Linked DNA regions of Homo sapiens: region 1 is linked to region 2. The links are contacts of gene promoters, found by promoter capture Hi-C in blood cells and fetal thymus (Javierre and others, 2016). All regions are on one chromosome and are shown on one strand. Each heading gives the region's core, a stretch centred on a gene start or on the middle of the fragment in contact. The rest is flanking DNA. Distances are from core to core; before and after follow the strand shown. Region 1 overlaps ADAMTS3 (ADAM metallopeptidase with thrombospondin type 1 motif 3). Region 2 holds the start of SLC4A4 (solute carrier family 4 member 4).

Region 1 (2,700 bases), core at 114-2,613, 1.1 Mb after region 2:
GGGATTTTAAATTTTAGATTTGTTTATCAGCATATAATGTTACATTAGAAAGCAAAATTTCATGTTACTACAATTATTGAAAATGTGTGAAAAACATGAGTAATTTTAATTAAATGTATTTATTCCTCTTGGGCTTTAAACTGGTCTATTTTTTCCAAGGACATTAATATGAATTCTAGGATGAAAAATAAGGGATTTTAAATGCTTGAGAGAGAACTATAGCTGACTGCTAGACTATTACGACATTTAGTAGTGAATATAAATTAAATGTGTTTAAAAATTCTATGAAACACCATAAAACAATGCACTTTTTAAAGTCACAACTGAAATAAAACAATTTGCTACAAATTTTCATGGAGTTGATACGTGATGTCTTAGCTTCAGAAATTATCTTAGTGTTCTTATAGGCCAAGGAATAAGTAAGTTATGTTTACACTTGTCTATACAATTTAAATGTAAACCTCTTTAAAGTGACATTTCCATGTAATCGTCTCATAAAAGAAAAAAAAATCTTCTTGTGGAAATTATAATCAGCTCTCCGTGGCAAATGGATCTGCATGTGCCAGTCAAAAACCTGACACATGTCAGATATTAGAATAATTTAAGATTAGATTAGTAAAATTCACCTGTGGTTGCTTTTCAAAGAATGTGAAATACAATAAAAATAAGGATACGTACAGTATTGGATCAATCAAAATATCAGAACTTATTTGTAAACATAAGTATGATGAATTTTTCTGATATTCCTTGATTTAGTGGATTTTATTAACATATTTATTTTCTTATTCCTTAGAGCAAAAAGTGTATAAGAAATATAAGCTTGTCAAATGATTTTTCCCTCATATAGTTAGGAACCAACCCCAGTTTCTATACAAAATTAAAGCTCTACTTTTTTTATGTTTCTTGTTTTAAAGTAAGCATAGTTGGGAGAAATGACCAAAAAAAACCTACATAACATTCAATTAATGCATTTATATATTATTTTGATTCTTACATATACGTATGCACATGTATGTACATATACATATGCACATGTACACACATATACACATGCACATGTACGCACATATACGCATGCACATCATGCACATGTACGCACATATACGTATGCACATGTACGTACATATACGTATGCACATGTATGTACATATACGTATGCACATATATGTGTACATATATACATATCTATATTTAGGATTTCTTTGACATTTCAATGTTTCAGTGCATGTTAAAGCAGAGACAGCAGACAGAAACACTTACCAAGAATATGAGGAGAAGCCTCGTCTTCTTGGATTAACACATGTCTAGCCCCAGGGGGTATATCAAACATCTTAAGGTACCCTTTGCATGTGTAGTAAATATTGTAGGAAGCAAAGAAGAAAACAAAAGCAACAACCATGGTTAGTTGAGCACTACATTCTTACTGCTTCTGCGTGCAGAAGAGGGCATCCATAAATTTAAAGAAGCAGTTTCGGAAATTAACTTCAAAGCATTGGTAGCTTTTGTGACATCCAACATGAAATTAGAGGCAACTTTTTTTTTTATTAAAGAGGGAAAAAAGTTAATCTTGTTACCAACGTATTAGTCACTTATCTTGCGTTGACCTTCAAATGATGTGAACAACAATTCAGGCAAATACTATACTTTCCTGTGTCCCTCTGTGTGATTCTAGTTTTCTAAACCATCCTTTTGAAGTGGAGTCAATTTTTAGTGAAAGTTCACTTAAGTTGTAAACTTTTTGGGATATGTTATCTGCTTACATGTTATTTTAAAAGTCTAAGAGGGAAGTATAGACAGCTAAACTTCTAATTATTAAAATATTTTCATATTTAAAGCCTTCTTTATTCTAAAGGAGTTACAACAGAAAAATCAGTGCTTTCATTTTTCTTGTGATCAGTATTAATTTTAAAGCTTTAGGCAAGTTTTATGATGGGACTATTTTAACCAAATCGACAACATGGATTTTAAACCACTTAGTTGGAAAATGTGTGCAAGATGTGTTATGCATTGCCTTTATATGCACCCTAACCTCAAAACCTCCTAAGCCAGAAATAAGAAAATCAATATGCTTAATAGGTTGCTTTGTGTTTTAAAATCATATATCATTCCTATTACTGTAAATGTCATATATCACATACTATGTTGATACTATCACATGTCCTAAAAATTATCTTACAATCATTTAGAATTAAGATTATGACCATAAATCATAAATATTATGACCTGACAATAGTCAGGTCAATTAGAACAGATGTTATACATCTCATTATCATACAAATAAATGAATATAAAATGATTATGTAACCTACACCTTCAATACATTATGAAACATCCAATACATATTCTATGGAGAATATTAACAGAAATCCAGTTATCAATCCACAATTATTGATGAAATAAGAAAAAACAAGTGTTTTTGTCATTTGTATATGTATAATAATATACACCTATGAATAGATTTACCTAAGTTTTTCACAATATTTATTAGTGTCCTAACTAAATAAAGTGGTCCTTTTGGGATCAGGGTGTTCAGCACTTTAGCCTGGGGTAAAGTCTAACACATGAAATGTACCATGTTTGCCTGAGTACACAGTGGCTAAAAGGAACATGCTTAAGATGCCAAGTACAGCAAAACAGCTTGATGCCATTTATGGATGCCCATCTTTCTGCAGTTTGCTACAACTTACCCAGTACGTTTTT
Region 2 (2,700 bases), core at 180-2,679:
GGGGACCAGGAGCAGTTGGTATGTTAAATTATTTCTCTTGAGCTTTATGCATTTTGGTGGCTACTGTTGAAAACACAGTTTGGTCAGTGATGTCCACATACACATTACATATAATATGTATTACTAGAAAATGATATACACTTGCATGATATACCATGTGGTTGCAATCCATTAAGTGACTACTCTCTAGCAGTACCCAGAACAATAGATGGTGTGTCTGTGCTGACAGTCTGTTCATATCTTAATGGTTTACTTATGATTCAATAGTTTACCAATGGCAATGGTGCTGGATCACTGATATATTATTTGCTTGGCAAAGAGTACTTGAACCTCATTATTAGACTTAGGAACAGAATAAATACAAATAATCACTTTGCTAAGGCTGTTTTCCTAACTCCCAAGGAAGACAGAAAGGCATCAGTGACATAAGTGAAGGACACAGTTGACAACCACGTTATCTTCAGACATCTTTTGTTAAAGGTGAACAATTACTTAATACTGTGTTATGGCAGCACTCTATACGCCCCAAGTTTTATAAAGTAGAGTCAAGAGTGATCTGAGCTGGGAAACTCACGCAATTTTAGTTCTGCATGAAAGCACAGGCTCTCCCCACTGGGGAACTCTTTTGAGTAGGACAAAAAGCTGGACCTAGGACCCAGCCCAGGGCGTGAGAGAAAAGGAACCTGGGAGGCAAGAGCGGCCGGTCCGGAGCCGGGTCCTCCGCCAGCTCCGGGCGGGCGCTGCGCACAGAGCCCAAGCCCCCGGCGGAGGCGGCGCGGCTCGAGGCCCCTCCCCGCCGCCGATGCCCGGGCGGCTGACGCCGAGCAGCGGCCCGGAGCGGTGGGGGCCGGGCTGGCGGGCACGAGCGAGGGCAGGGCAGGGGGCCGGCCGAGGCCACTTACGGCTTTAAATATGGATCGCAGGCTCGCGCTCGCGGCACAGCCTCCGCCGCGGCCGCCTTCCGTGAGCCCCCGCACCCCGGCTTGCTCCCGAGGGGCGCCTGGGCTGGGCTCCACTGCTGCAGTGTTAGTTACTAGCAGGAACATCAGAGATCCCCATAAATATGCAGGAGCTGCAGGAGGCAAAGTAGAGTAGACGCCCGCGCTCTTACACACTCGCTCGCCGCGCACCACACAGGCTGTGTAGACATCCCCCCGCGCCACCTTTCCCCTTTCCTCGCGGGCCGTTCAGGTTGCAGTCCTGCCTGCTCCGAAGACCCTCCCGCCCCAGCGCCTTTGCCCCGCTCTCCCGCGCTCGCCTCTCTCCGGAGCGCGCACCCACCCAGGCGGCAAAGTTGTGACTACTTGGGCGCGGGTGACTGGCGCCCCGCTCGCTCCGCGCCCGGCGCAGACAACTTCCCGCGGCTCGGCCCCGCCGCGTCCCGGGCTCGCGCCTCCAGGGATTCCGCGGCCCCCCAGCCTCCAACCCCGGCGGCGCGCCGGGCAGCGCTTCGGTGGCGGCGGCGGCCGCGGTGGCAGCGAAGGCGGCGGCGGCGGCGGCAGTGGCAGTGGCCGCTGCAGCCCCACACTCCGCCGCCAAACTGGAGGAGCGACGGAAGCCAGACCCCAGGAGGTGAGCGCCCGGCCCCGGCAGCTGCCGGGAGGGTCGATGGGGTCCCTCGCTCCAAGGCGGAGGCGGGCGCGGGCCCGGGGGCCGATTCCGTAGGGCGCGCAGGCGGCCTCAGCGCGCTCCTGGGAGGGAGAGAGAGGTCAATTGCGGGCCGGGCATCCCCTGAGCTGGGCGCGGGCGGTGTGTGGAGGCTGCTTCCGCGGAAAAGTATTTTTTTTCCTTCTTAGGGTTTAGAGGAAGAGTTTGGGTGGTCTGCTTCTCCCTCACTGCTAAGTCCCCTGCGCGCAACTGGGCGTCTTTACGAGGACTGCGGGGCCAGTTCTGCGGCGGGCTGGGCTCGGGCTCAGTGACACGTGTGTTGCTGTGAGCCTGGGTGGTCGCCCTGTGACCAGGCACCTGCTTGAGAGGAACACATCCCTAAACCCATCACAGGGGGAGATTTGGGGACTCTTGGTGCTACCGAGGCCGCGGCCCCCACTTCACTGCCAGCTCCAGGACGGAGCATTTACATCTCTCCCTGGCACGCCAAAGGCGGGGGGTGAGTCAGGCAGATTCTCTGCAAGTGGCACACACACATTTATTTGCAATGGATTTGGCTAGGGGAGGCATAGGTTAAACTGGAATTTCTCTTGGCCAGCGACAACGGAGCTCTCCCTCAGGTACTGGGCAGCATGTGAGTCTTGGCAAAGAGAGGTGATTTCTTTTTTCTTAAGTGCATTTTACTCAGCCGTTGCCAGTCCGTTAATAAGTCACCAGAGGAAGGCAGGACCTGGGAACTACATCAGCAAACCGCAGCAAGCACCATAAAGACAAAAGTTCTTATAGAACAAAAAGAAAAACTTGAACTTGACGTGAAAGATGGAGGAAGCAGTTCTACCTCTCTTCTATCACTTTTTTCAGCGCCCTGTAAAACTGTTTTTTTCTATCCTTCCTTCCCTCTCAAGGCCCTACCTTCTCAGCATAATTGATCGCAGCAAGCTCTTTCCAACTTGACACTGAAGAGCAGCGACCCCTTTGGCTTACCCTCCCCATTTCTTTTCCTGGTTCGCTTCAGTGCCCTGGAAAGTTGCTCCTAATGAGAAATCAAGAACACTGGGCTGTACTAAACGCTCATTGTCTCAAATCCTGCAG

What was found. The method cuts DNA at HindIII sites, captures the fragments that hold promoters and counts their contacts. A CHiCAGO score of 5 or more calls a contact.
Region 1: a contact is called between a fragment that was not itself captured here and the fragment with the promoter of SLC4A4 in region 2, in 2 of 17 cell types (monocytes and naive B cells). The highest score is 8.4, in monocytes.

What each region holds. Positions count from the first base shown.
Region 1 is chr4:72,304,727-72,307,426 of GRCh38, forward strand. ADAMTS3 (ADAM metallopeptidase with thrombospondin type 1 motif 3) reads right to left here. Exons shown (of 22, transcript NM_014243.3): 16 at 1,261-1,341. Among named protein-coding and RNA genes, the nearest start is that of ADAMTS3, 260 kb to the right of the region's middle. The HindIII fragment of the contact is 1,092 bases long and covers 818-1,909 here.
Region 2 is chr4:71,185,830-71,188,529 of GRCh38, forward strand. SLC4A4 (solute carrier family 4 member 4) reads left to right here and starts at 1,430. Exons shown (of 26, transcript NM_001098484.3): 1 at 1,430-1,572. It overlaps LOC124900712 (a long non-coding RNA gene), which reads right to left and starts at 695. Exons shown (of 2, transcript XR_007058133.1): 1 at 1-695. The HindIII fragment of the contact is 10,115 bases long and covers 1-2,700 here.